Linked DNA regions of Homo sapiens: region 1 is linked to region 2. Evidence: promoter capture Hi-C in human tissues and cell types (Jung and others, 2019). All regions are on one chromosome and are shown on one strand. The core of a region is centred on a gene start or on the middle of the fragment in contact, and the rest is flanking DNA. Distances in the headings are between cores, read along the strand shown. Region 1 holds the start of ZNF440 (zinc finger protein 440). Region 2 holds the start of ZNF443 (zinc finger protein 443).

What was found. Contacts are between HindIII fragments. The study calls those that stand out against the background at their distance.
Region 1: a contact is called between the fragment with the promoter of ZNF440 here and the fragment with the promoter of ZNF443 in region 2, in 2 of the 25 tissues and cell types used here (IMR-90 fibroblasts and lymphoblastoid cells).

Annotation. Positions count from the first base shown.
Region 1 is chr19:11,809,590-11,816,285 of GRCh38, reverse strand. It overlaps ZNF440 (zinc finger protein 440), which reads right to left and starts at 2,013. Exons shown (of 4, transcript NM_152357.3): 1 at 1,836-2,013. The coding sequence starts at 1,838. RefSeq lists silencers at 1,609-1,678, 2,099-2,178, 3,913-4,022. The HindIII fragment of the contact is 18,958 bases long and covers 1-6,696 here.
Region 2 is chr19:12,437,316-12,443,848 of GRCh38, reverse strand. ZNF443 (zinc finger protein 443) reads left to right here and starts at 2,828. Exons shown (of 4, transcript NM_005815.5): 1 at 2,828-2,937. The coding sequence starts at 2,935. RefSeq lists an enhancer at 2,380-2,649 and a silencer at 3,060-3,149. The HindIII fragment of the contact is 16,773 bases long and covers 1-6,533 here.

The DNA.
Region 1 (6,696 bases), core at 764-3,263, 630 kb after region 2:
TCAGCATTCCTTCCTACCTCCTCCAAACTTTAGACAAAGATTCAACACTCTCAACCAGCTGCCACCTACAGAATCCCTCAACTACCTGTGCCTTCTAACCCCCCTTCCACAGGTCCCACCCTTTCTGCCAATGGAACTTACACCTTCCAGGCACTGATTCATGATTTTCCCTGCAATTCCTGTCTCTCTGAAATGAATAAAACCAAACTGTCTTGAGCTGCCTCGGGACCACTTACTCCAGGCTGCTTGGGGTTGTGTTTCCCTCGGCCAACGGCTCTCCTATTCGGCTCCTAATAAACTTCTTTATTTTACATAGCTTGGCTTTTTCCGTTGACAAACCACAAGCCAGGACTGGGTGTTTCTCATTCGTGAATCGTTGTTGTTGTTTTGAGATGGAGTCTGGCTCTGTTGCCAGGCTGGAGTGACGCCGTCTTGGCTGACTGCAACCGCCGCCTCCTGGGTTCAAGCAATTCTTCTGCCTCAGCCTCTCAAGTAGCTGGGATTACAGGCACGCGCCACCATGCCCAGCTAATTTTTGTATTTTTAGTAGAGATGGGGTTTCACCATGTTGGCCAGGCTGGTCTTGAACTCCTGACTTCCTGATCCGCCCGCCTCGGCCTCCCAAAGTGCTGGGATTACAGGCGTGAGCCACCGCGCCCGGCCCTAAACTCTTTAATTGTTAACGTACCTCAGTTTAATTTTTAACAGAAAAAAGTGGGCACTGGGGACCCCAAAGACCGCTACTCCTCCCACACGAACCTGTCAGAGATGATAAATTACTTTTCTAAAAGCTTTAGTAAGCTGTTCTTTGTTTCTTGAGACCGACTTCCTTGTCTCCTAGCTACCTGTTCTGTAAACAACCTTCCCGCTTTTGCCGCGCCCAGACAAGTCCAGATACGCCTTCCCGCCTAGTAACGGACAGTCCCTGTTCCTTCCCGTCTCATAGACCCTATTTAATTTGTGTGTGTGTGTGTGTGTGTGTGTGTGTGTGTGTGTGTGTGACGGAGTTGCCCAGTTGTCTCGCTCTGTTGCCCAGGCTGGAGTACAGTGGTGCGATCTCGGCTCACTGCAAGCTCCACCTCCCGGGTTCACGCCATTCTCCTGCCTCAGCCTCCCGAGTAGCTGGAACTACAGGCGCCCGCCACCATACCCAGTTAATTTTTTTGTATTTTTAGTGGAGACGGGGTTTCACCGTGTTAGCCAGGGATGGTCTCGATCTCCTGACCTCGCGATCCGCCTGCCTCGGCCTCCCAAAGTGCTGGGGTTACAGGCGTGACCCACCGCGCCTGGCCAGACCCTATTTAATTTTAAACCTTAGCCTATCGAGTTAGTTTAGATTGTGAGGTCCAACCCTAGCCAATGAGGAAAGGACACAGAAGTGCTAGAAACTGCGTTAAGGAGAAAAACCCCTGCCCTACCCCGCTCGCTGTGCTCTTGTGACTGGCGCAAGCTGCACCCTTGTGTAGAAATAAATTTGCTTTGCTGAGGAATTTTCTGCCTAGATGCTGGTTTTCTTTGCGGCACCGGGCACTTGTTTCTAACAAACCCCATATCCGAGGCGGGATCCCCCCATATCCCTCCCGTGGCCCCCGCATAATGTGGGGAGACGCGGAGCTGCCCAGATTAGGCTCCGGAGCCGGGGCCGCAGTCGCCGTGAAGGGACGGGACAGGAGGCCCGGGGTCCCGGCTGCCGGCCCAGCCCCACCCTGCGACCGAGGGGACTCGCGTCCACGACCCCGGAGTCGCCGCGTGGAGGCCCGGGTCCCGCCTCAGCCGGTTCCGGCCGATTCCAGCCCCTCTCCCAGTCGCCCGGACGCCAGCCCCCTCACACACACCATTTCTCGGCTTCCAGGGTGTTCCGGCGTCCTCTGCGTGGCTCCCGCGACTAGTGTAGGTCACAGTGCAGGTTACAGAGCGACAGAAGCTCTGGTGGAGGCACCTAGTCCCTCTCGAAGCAAGAAAGCCGAGATCCTGACCGCTGTCGGCGCAGCACTAAAGGAATGGACGGAGGGCGACTGTCCCTTCCCCCTTCCCCGGATGGACAGTTGACAGGGCCCCGCCCCAGCACCCCTGATTGGATGGGGCGCCAGGCCCCGCCTCCTCCGTGCTGAGTGACAGCAGAAGCCCTGGGTAACCGGGTCCTGCAGATCATGTCTGACTTGTTCTGGCCACAGCGTCTCTGAGCGAGCAGCCTCTCTAAGCGAGCAGCCTCTCTAAGCGAACAGCCTCTCTAAGCGAGCGCCTTCCTTGAGCCCTGGTCATCAGATATTTGCATTTCAAGGCGACTTGCTCCTTATTGTTAGAAGAGGCACTGTTAGCTTCCTCATTCAAGGGGCTGTCCCTGCTCCTTCCTTCTGCACGGGATCACAAGTGTGTGCAGGGCATTTCAGACTCAGTGTTCAATGGAGAGATACGCTTGCCTCAGAGCAGGAGGGGAGCCCAGACCAGGCAAGGCACGACTGCACCAGGAGAGAGAGGCAGATGTCTTCCAGCGTGCGGGAAATGGGATGAGGCATGGCCAAGGCTTCCTCACACTGCTATGGACTCCAGCAAGGTTTTCCTTGTAAGGGAGCTAACCAAGCCAGAACTTATTAAAGATTTAGAGGCTCTCAGTACTATGTATATCTATCCCTGGTGCATTGACAGTGACTGAAGACCCATTTTTCAGGACATGCTGTGTAGGACTGAGCCAGGGAACATGATATAGCATGGCACTTTTATCTCACATATAACCCCCAAGGAGCAGGGTTAACTGAAATGAAAGATGGTCTCAGGGGAAGCTGTAAATGAGAAATTCTGTCATAGAAATTATGATTTAGGCAGGCCGGGCGCGGTGGCTCATGCCTGTAATCCCAGCACTTTGAGAGGCTGAGGCAGGTGGATCACGAGGTCAGGAGTTCAAGACCAGCCTGGCCAACATGGTGAAATCCTATCTCTACTAAAAATACAAAAATTAGCCAGGAATGGTGGCGCATGCCTGTAATCCCAGCTACTTGAAAGGCTGAGGCAGGAGAATTGCTTGAACCGGGAGGCAGAGTTTGCAGTGAGCCAAGATCGTGCCACTGCATTCCAGCCTGAGACACAGTGAGACTCCATCTCAAAAAAAAAAAAATTATGTTTTAGCCATCTTTTTTTGAGACGGGGTCTCACTCTGTCGCCCAAGCTGGAGTGCAGTGGTGCGATGGCTACTCAATGCAGCCTCAACCTCCCAGACTCAAGCAATCCTCCCACCTCAGCCTCCTAAGTAGGTGGGACTACAAGTGCCTGCCACCATGCCTGGCTAGTTTTTTATTTTTGGTAGAGATGAGGTCTCATTCGGTTGTTCAGGTTGATCTCAAACTCCTGAGCTTAAGTGATCCTCCAGCCTCAGCCTCCCAAAGTGTTGGGATTACAGGTGTGCGCCTGGCCTCTTGGGCATCTTCATTGCTCCACACCTTACAATGATAAATTCAATATTCTGTGAATATTTCCTGGAGAAATTAGCACAGCCATAACTTGTGATAAGGTAAATCAGGTGTTGAAATTTGAACATTCCTGGAAACTTCATTTAATAAACCTAATTTTGCTTATGTGTGAAAGTATTCATACATATTCATTGTTCAGACACAGATAACCATGGCAAGATGAGGTGCTATGAAAAACTATGTTGGGACAACAGGTACTATCAAGGATTATCACTGGCAAACCGGGACACATGGTCAGATGATTTCTGAGGCAGTTTTGTACCTTATGTAAAGGTAGAAAGTGTTGGAACTAGAAGACATCGAGCTGGAGTCAGTTGCAGAATTGATGCTTTGCTTGGCATGTGGGGGACACTTCTCAAATATTTGCATTTGGTCACAGAAGTATTCCGTGTTGTGTGAGAGCAGAGGAAAAAGAGTAGACTTTTTTTCCACTCTTAAGTCTCAGCACAACTCAGAAATCCAGTCCCCCAGACAGGATGTGTGGATGTTAAAGTCGCCCTCACCACAAGAGGGAGCTTCATTGACTTCCCCTATCTGGAAAATGGCTCAAAGGTGTTTTCTAAAAGACTTTTTAATGTAAGGCATATCAGTTATTAGAAATAAAGGTAGGACAGGTGTGGTGGCTCACACCAGTAATACCAGCATTTTGGAAGGCCAAGGTAGGAGGATCGCTTGAGGCCAGGAGTTTGAGACCAGCCTGGGCAACATAGTGGGACCCTGTCTCTACCCGAAAAAAGAAAAAAAGTTAAGGTAACATCACTGAATTTGGTTTCATTTACATGATTTTTCTTTTCTTTTCTTCTTTCTTTCTTTCTTTCTTTCTTTCTTTCTTTCTTTCTTTCTTTCTTTCTTTCTTTCTTTCTTTCTTTCTCTCTCTCCCTCTCTCTCTCTCTCTTTCTTTCTTTCTTTCTTTCTTTCTTTCTTTTTTTTTTTTTACAAGGTCTCCCTCTGTCACCCAGGCTGGAGTACAGTGGTGCAAACAGAGCTCACTGCAGCCTTGATCTTCCGGACTCAAGCAATTCTCCCACCTCAGCCTCCCAAGTAGAGCCTGGGACCACAGGTGTGCGCCACCAAGCCCAGCGAATTTTTGTATTTTTTGTACAGATGGGGTTTCACTGTGTTGCCCAGACTGCTCTCCAACTCCTGGCCTCAAGTGACCCTCCCACTTTAGCTTCCTAAAGTGCTGGGATTACAGGTTCTGAGGCACCATGCCTGGCCAATTTAATTTTTCATAGATTGATTTTTAAAAAGTAATGAACCTGGCTGGGCATAGTGGTCATGCCTGTAATCCCAGCACTTTGGGAGGCTGAGGTGAGTGGATCACCTGAGGTTGGGAGTTCGAGACCAGCCTAGCCAACATGGTGAAACCCCATCTCTACTAAAAATACAAAAATTAGCTGAGTGTGGTGGTGCATGCCTGTAATCCCAGCTACTAAGGAGGCTGAAGCAGGAGAATCGCTTGAACCTGGAAGGTGGAGGTTGCAATGAGCCGAGATCACACCATTGCACTCCAGCCTGGGCAGCGACAAAGAGAGACTCTGTCTCAAAAAAAGAAAAAGAAAAAGAAAAAGAATAAGCAATAAACCCTGTGAACTTTGATTAGATTTCCCAGATCCTAAAAAGTGCAGTGTAACAAAAAACTGAATGGAAAGAAGTAGGACTAACTGAGGTGAGAGGAAGAACCCTCTGTGGAGGTGACATTTGAGGTGACCTGATATAATGTATTAGTATAAAGAAAATGTTAAAATGAACATTATGGGAGGCCATTGTTTTGGACTGAGCTTCTGCACTAGGCACTTAGAAACCAGATCAGACCAAAATGGAGTCACTCATGCTAAATGCCACATAACGAAACTGAAACTTAAAGGAAGCGAATAGATCCCTATACAGATGAATTTTTCCATCGAAAACCAGTTCAGTATCCTGTTGGCCAGACTGGTCTCAATTTGAGAAACATCAAGACACCTCCATAGTCAAGGCTAATAATGTCCAGGCTGTGTCCTGTTCATCACCTAAACCTGCACCTCTAGTGTTCCTTACCTTCACTGGCCATCCCAACACAGTGCCCGCCTCCTGTAGAAAATCACATCTGGAGTGAAGTTGGTGGCGTTGTTTGTACTCTAACCAAACTCTCAGAGTGCATTTGGCCTTCAAGGGAGAAGGATGAGGTCGTGTTTGGTTTCAGACACACCTAACTCTGTATTACCATCTCTTTCTTGATCTAAGCGACACTCTATAAAAACTGATAGGCAATGGGCTGGGTGCAGTAGCTCACGCCTGTAATCCCAGCACTTTGGGAGGCCGAGGCAGGTGGATCACAAGGTCAGGAGTTCAAGACTAGCCTGGCCAACATGGTGAAACGCCGTCTCTACTAAAAATACAAAAATTAGCCGGGTGTGGTGGCGGGCACCTGTAATCCCAGCTACTTGGGAGGCTGAGGCAGGACAATAGCTTGAACCCAGGAGGCAGAGGTTGCAGTGAGCCAAGATCGTGCCACTGCACTCCAGCCTGGGTGACAAAGTGAGACTCCATCTCAAAAAAAAAAAAAATGACAGGCAATGACAGTACCTTTCACTTATGTTGATACCTAATCTGGGGATGGATGTGTCATCTGCACATAGAGTCAGGGGTTGGTCACTCATTGCTGCTCTGTCCTGTGGTACCAGGTTTTGACTCTAGGGGGTTTCAAACAGGCTTCTCTGAAGAAGAGTTTGGCTGGCACTTCAAAAAAGTGATTGGATTGGTCCATGCCACTGCATAATATATAAAACTAACTTTTCCATGTTGCCTATTACTCTACAGTGTGGCATAAAAGGGTTGCTGAACTCCTGTTCGAGATCAGCCTGGGCAACATGGTGAAACCTTGTCTCTAAAAAAAAAAATACAAAAATTAGCTGGGCATGGTCCCAGCTACTTGGGAGGCTAAGGTGGGAGGATCGCTTGAGCCCAGGAGGTGGAGATTGCAGTGAGCCGAGATCACGCCACTGCACTCCACATAGCCTGGGTGATAGAATGAGACCCTGTGTCAAAAAGAAAAAAGAGGGGTGCATCAAGAGCATATTATCTGAGCAAGAAAGGCTTGGTTGGAATAGTGATACTGACTTTCATCCTTCCTAGGCGTGCATTCAGACAGTTACATAAATATATTGACCACACTTGACTCAGTAAGGAATTTCTTTAAAAGTATTATACAGCTTCCTAAGGAGTAAGTGATTTTATATATTTTTAACTG
Region 2 (6,533 bases), core at 1,579-4,078:
CCATACAAACATATGGAAATTAAACAATACGCTCCTGAATGACGAGTGGGTCAATGAAGAAATTAAGAAGAAAATTGAAAAGTTTCTTCAAACAAATGATAATGAAAATGCAACATACCAAAACCTATGGAATACAGCAAAAGCAGTACTAAGAGGGAAGTTTATAGATATAAGCACCTACATCAAAAAAGAAGAAGACCTTCAGGCTGGGTGCAGTGGCTCCCATCTGTAATCCCAGCACTTTAGGAGGCCAAAGGGAGTGGATCACCTGAGGTTAGGAGTTCGAGACCAGCCTGGCCAACATGGTGAAACCCTGTATCTACTAAAAATACAAAAAATGACATGGTGGTCGGTGCCTGTAATCCCAGCTACTTGGGAGGCTGAGGCAGGAGAACTGCTTGAACCCAGAAGGCAGAGGTGGCAGTGAGCTGAGATTGCGCCATTGCACTCCAGCCTAGGCTGCAAGAGTGAAGTGAAACTCATCTCAAAAAAAAAAAAAGAAGAAGAAGAAAACCTTCAAATAAACAACCTAAGAATGCATCTTAAAGAATTAGAAAAGCAAGAGCAAACCAAACCCAAAATCAGTAGAAGAAAAGAAATAATAAAAATCAGTAGAAATAAATGAATTTGAAATGAAGAAACAATAGAAAAGAACAATGAAACAAAAAGTTGGTTTTTTGAAAAGACAAACAAAATTGACAAACCTTGAGGTAGACTAAGAAAAAACCAGGCCCAAATAAATACAATTAGAGGTGAAAAAGGAGACATTACAGTTGATACTGCAGAAATTCAAAGGATCATTAATGCAACTAAGAACAACTATATGCCAATAAACTGGAAAACCTAGAAGAAACTGATAAATTCCTAGGCAGATAGAACATAGCAACATTGAACCATGAAGAAATAAAAAACCTGAACAGACCAATAACAAATAATGAGATCAAAGCCATAATAAAAAGTCTCCTAGCAAAGAAAACCCCAGAACCCAGTGGCTCCACTGCTGAATTCTACCAACATTTAAAAAAGAACTAATACCAATCTTACTCAAACTATTCCAAAAAACAGAGGAGAAGGCAATACTTCCAAATTTATTTTACAAAGCCAATATTACTTTGACACCAAAACCAGACAAAGACATGTCAGAAAAAGAAAACTATAGGCCAGTGTCACTGATGAATATTGATGCAAAAATCCTCAACTCAATACTAGCAAACTGAATTTAACAATACACCAAAAAGATCATTCATCATGACCAAGTGGGCTTTATCCCTGGGATGCAAGGATGGTTCAATATATGCAAATCAATCAATGTGATGTATCATTTCAACAGAATAAAGGGCAAACACCATATAATCATTTCAATGTGCACTGAAAAAGCTTTTGATAATATTTAACATCCCTTCATGATAAAAACCCTAAAAAAAAGTGGGTAAAGAAGGAGCATACCTTAACATAATAAAAGCTATATATGGCAGACCCACAGCTAGCATGATAATGAATGGGGAAAAACTGAAAGCCCTTCCTGTAAGATCTGGAACACAATAAGAATGCCCACTTTTACCACTGTTGTTCAACACAGTACTTGAAGTCCCAGCTAGAGCAATAAGACAAAAAAAAAAAAAAGAAAAAAAAAGAAATAAAGGGCATCCATATTGGGAAGGAAGAAGTCAAATTATCCTTGTTTGCATATAATATGATCTTATATCTGGAAATACCTAAAGACTCCACCAAAAAAGTATTAGAACTGAGAAATAAATTCAGTAAAGTTGCAGTATACAATATCAACACACAAAAATCAATAACATTTTTATATGCCAACAGTGAACAATCTGAAGCTACTTGAGAGGCTGAGGTGGGAGGATTGCTTGAGCTTAGGAGGTAGAGGTTGCAGTGAGCCATGATGGCCCCACTGCACTCCAGCCTAGGTAACAGAGCAAGACCCCATCTCAAACAACCAAAAATGTGTAGAAGGATGGTTACCAGAGGCTGCGAAAAGTAGTAGCGAGGAGTAGTTATGGGGGAAGTGGGGATGGTTAATAGGTATAAAAAATAGTTACAAAGAATGAATAAGACCTAGTATTTGCTAGCACAACAGAGTGACTATAGTAAAAAATAATTTAATTGTACATTGAAAAATCTTGAAAAATTTCATTGAAAAAGAGCATAATTGGAGCCAGGCGCAGTTGCTCACGCCTCTAATCCCAGAACTTTGGGAGGCCAAGGTAGGCGGATCACGAGGTCACGAGTTTGAGACCAGCCTGGCCAACATGGTGAAACCCAGCCTCTACTGAAAAATACAAAAATTAGCCGGGTGGTGGCGCGTGCCTGTAATCCTAGCTACTCGGGAGGCTGAGGCAGGAGAATTGCTTGAACCCACCCAGGAGGCGAAGGTTGCAGTGAGCCTCGCACCATTGCACTCTAGCCTGGGCGACAGAGCAAGACTCCCTCTCGAGGAAAAAAAAAAAAAAAGATATAATTAGTTTGTCAGTCCGTGTCCAGGAGGAAGAAGCAGGAGGTCCTATTGAGTACGGGCAGGAAATTCCGCTTAAGTGCAAATATAACCCGGGAGGATTCAGATCAAAGAGCAGGGAGGAAGCCCCCCCTGCCAAGGGCTGTGTCAGGAACTTGCTCATCCGGCTCCACTCAGCTGTGCAAGATCGCTTCTTCTGTCAATCAGCCCTCAGGGGGCGGGACCTGACGCCCTATCCAATCAGGGGCGTGGGGCGGGTTCGTGGGAACTGTCAATCAGGCACTGCCCAGAGAAGTGTGTGTGGTTGAAAAAGCCCGCGGCGTCTGCTCCACCCACCTGCGCTCGGCTCTGGGTTCTGTAGCTGAGAGACGACCTGGAAGTTCTGAGGCAGCCTTTGTCTGGCTGGAACACGCATTGGCAGCGGGAGCTGTCGGTAGGACCTGGGACACCGCGGAAGTCGGGAAATGGTGCGTGTGCTGGGCCGGCGTCCCGAGGCGGGGGAGGGGTTAGGTGGAACCGGCCGTAATCGGCTGTGGCTGGACCCGGGCCTCCCCAAGGGCGACTTCGGGATCTACGGACCCGGGTCCCCCTGGCGTAGGTCGGCCCTCGGCCGCAGGGTGGGGCTGGGCATGCAGCCGGGACCCCGGGCGTCCTGTCCCGTTCCTGCGCGGCGACTGCGGCCCCGGCGCCCTCTCTGGGCAGCTCCGAGCCCGCAGCCCCGGGTCTCCCCAGATTGTGCGGCTGTAACCAACACAGGTTCGCGGCCCGACTCACTGCACCGAGACGCCGAGGGCTGCAGCAGAAACGGTTTAACAGGAGGAGAGGGGAGGACACCCCAGATCCGCCTCCCTGAGGGATTTGGGGTCTGGACGGGGGCGGCTGGGTGTAGCGTCCTTGGTTGGTGGGGAAGTGAGGGGTGAATCCTGGGACAGGAGGTGAAGAAACCGCATTCTGCTGAGAGGGCTCCCTCGTGGGGTCTTCAACCTGGTTGGCGCCAGCCTTTCTGCTGGGATTCAGGATCTGAGAACTCCGGCGACTCTTGAGCAGCACTCGGAGATCTTATCCCCAGGCACAATGGGGAAGCCGGCGGTCAGCGTCTGCTGTGACCTGACTCTCAGGGAGGCGGCCCCTTGAGGCAGCGGGGCTGAGGGCACCTGTTTAATATCTAACTGCAATCTCGCCTCCAGCCTGGCTCGCAGTTCCTGTGAACCCGGTGAGGAGGCTGCACGGTGACGACGAGTCACCAGGTGGAATCCAGACTCGTGTGTGGGGTTTGTGTGTGGGAGGAGCTGTGGTTTCCGTGGTCCTCAGTCCTTTCTTCCTTTCCAAGGGCGACCGTTTCCCCTCTGAGTCTTCCAAAGACGTGGGCAGCAGGGTCTCAAATCCACCACTGTGTTCTCTCATCCTGACTCTTCCTAGGGCTGGCAGCAAATCTCTTGGTTTCCAGAGACTTCCCCAGGCTAACCTTCTGTCCTTAATTCACAGCAACAGTATGAACTGTTTGGCCCCAGGCGATATTTCACTAGTTTGTCATCTTGTTTTCAGCTAGCAATGTATGGCTTTTTCTTGAAAGAATTGTTTTGGGTTCCTGAACACGGTGGGTCATTCCTGTAATTCCAGCACCTTGGGAGGCTAAGGCAGAGGTATTGCTTGATCCCAGTAGTTCCAGACCAGCCTGGGCAACATGGCAAGACTTTGTCTCTAGTGTAAATGATAATAATAAAATTAGCTGGGCTTGGTAGCTGGCACCTGTAGTCGCAGCTACTCCTGAGGCTGAGGTGGGATGATGGCTGGAGCCCAGGAGTTTGAAGTTGCAGTGAGCTATGATCGTGCCTCTGCATCCCAGCCTAGGCAACAGAGGCCGACCCTGTCTCAAAAAAAATGGATGTCCACAGCTGCCAAGTCTCTTGGAGGGTCTAGTGAATATCATCCCCTGGGTCACTCCTCCCAGGGGACAGCCTGAGATGGAAGGTGTGGCCCCCTGGGGAGCAACTGGATCCACTGGGATGGGAGGAATCTTCTGGTATATAATTCCTGTAAAAAGCTAACTCCTGGGACACTCACCTTTTCTTCCCAACCCTAGTTTCCATTCCTTGGAGACACATGACTGAACAGCCAATTTCATGGTCATATTCCATAGGAAAAAAAACGGAAATGATTTTTGCCTTCTGGACTCTCTCAGACTTAAAAGGTAGAAAGTTATATCTAAGGACTGGAGAACCTGCCCTTTGAGGTAGTGCAAGATCCTGAAAAGCACACAAGGCAGTGTCTCCTAGGAGGGTGGTGAGTGTCTCCTAGGAGGGTGGCGAACAGAATAGGGTTAAGGGATGTCCCAGGTGATAGGATGACCTGCACTGATTGTTGCATTAGACTTTTCTGTGTTCCAGTCAGCACTGCTGATTCCTGAGTTTGTTAGCTTGAAAAGATATGTTTACTCTTTTCAGCCTAAATTTTTGATTAACCGTGAAATACATCCTATGATTAGAGATTGTTATTTTATACTTTGAAGACAAAGTATACCCAAAGTTGGAAAGAGTCGGACTTCAGAAAATAAATTTTATAAGTAATACTAGAAAGAGTTGGACTTCAGAATATAAATGGTATATGTAATCTTCTATTCCATTTTTTAAAAGCCTTTATTTATTTTTTTTGCCCCAGAGCTTGTGTAGTACGTTTCTCAGGTGTGTTTGTTTTTCGGATGATTTCAGATGGAATTTCAGGACTTAGTAGTATAACTACTACCAAGGGAAAAACCCTCTTCCATTATGGCTGCAAAAAAGGAATACATTTTTACAAGAAAGTGTAATAGGTACATTGAATTAAAAAGATTTAACAAAAGTTCAGTTCTTCTCCTTTTTAAAAGGGTGGAGATTTTGGGACAATGGAGAAATCTGTTCTGTTCCTGTTATATCTGACAGATGAATGCTAAATTCTGTGGGACAGGACTTTCCAACAGCTAAAGAAGTAAAATATAATTATTTTTTACTATATCACTTACTATCATGGAAATAGTAATTAAATGACATTCATTGTCTGGAAGGGATAGGTATTTGGGCTTTTCCTGTTGAGCTATAAAATGTCAGTGCCTTACAATTTCCTTCCCACCCGTAGACATAGACACTGAATTTGAGTGATTTTCCTGGATTCATCAAACATGAGTATTTTGTTTTTAAATATCCATGTAAAGCATAGAAGGGTAAGAGAGTAGCTTTGACTATGGCAGAGAGGCCTGAGGCCAATGCCCCCACCTCCAGCTAAGACCAATTTTTTTTTTTTTTTTTTGAGACAGCATCTCTGTTGTCCAGGCTGGAGTGCAGTGGCACGATCTCAGCTCACTGCAACCTCCGCCTCCTGCGTTCAAGCGATTCTCTTGCCTCAGCCTCCTGAGTAGCTGGGACTACGGGTGCGTGCTACCATGCCTGGCTAATTTTTTTTTTTTTTGTATTTTTAATAGAGACGGGGTTTCACCATATTGGCCAGGCTGGTCTTGAACTCCTGACCTCGGGCAATCCACCAGCTTTGGCCTCCTAAAGTGCTGGGATTACAGGCATGAGCATCATGCCCATCCCCATATGGCTTTTGATTAGGGCTAGAATGGAGTATATTTTTTCATACCTTTATATTTAATGTACCTGTGTCTTTCTACTTAAAATAGTTTTCTTGAGAGAATAAAAAAAATAGTTTTCTTGCACACATTGGTAGGTCTTGTTTTTTTTATTCTACTCTGTCAGTCCTTGTCTTCTTTTATTGGTATATTCATATAATACACATTTAAAGTGGTTATTGATATACTTGGATTCATGTGTACATATATAATTGTTTTATATTTGTTATACTTGTCGGTTTTTTTCAACTTCCTTTCTTTTTCTGTCTCCTTTTATTTTAACTGAGGTGTCTATATGATTGTGTTTTCTTCTAATAGTATAGTAAGTCTACTTGTTTCTTTGTTTCTTTGTTTCTTTTTTTTTTTTGAGACAGGTTCTTGCTCTATCACCTAGGCTAGAGTGCAGTGGAGCAATCATAGTTAACTATAACCTCCAACTCCTGGGCTCAGGAGATCCTC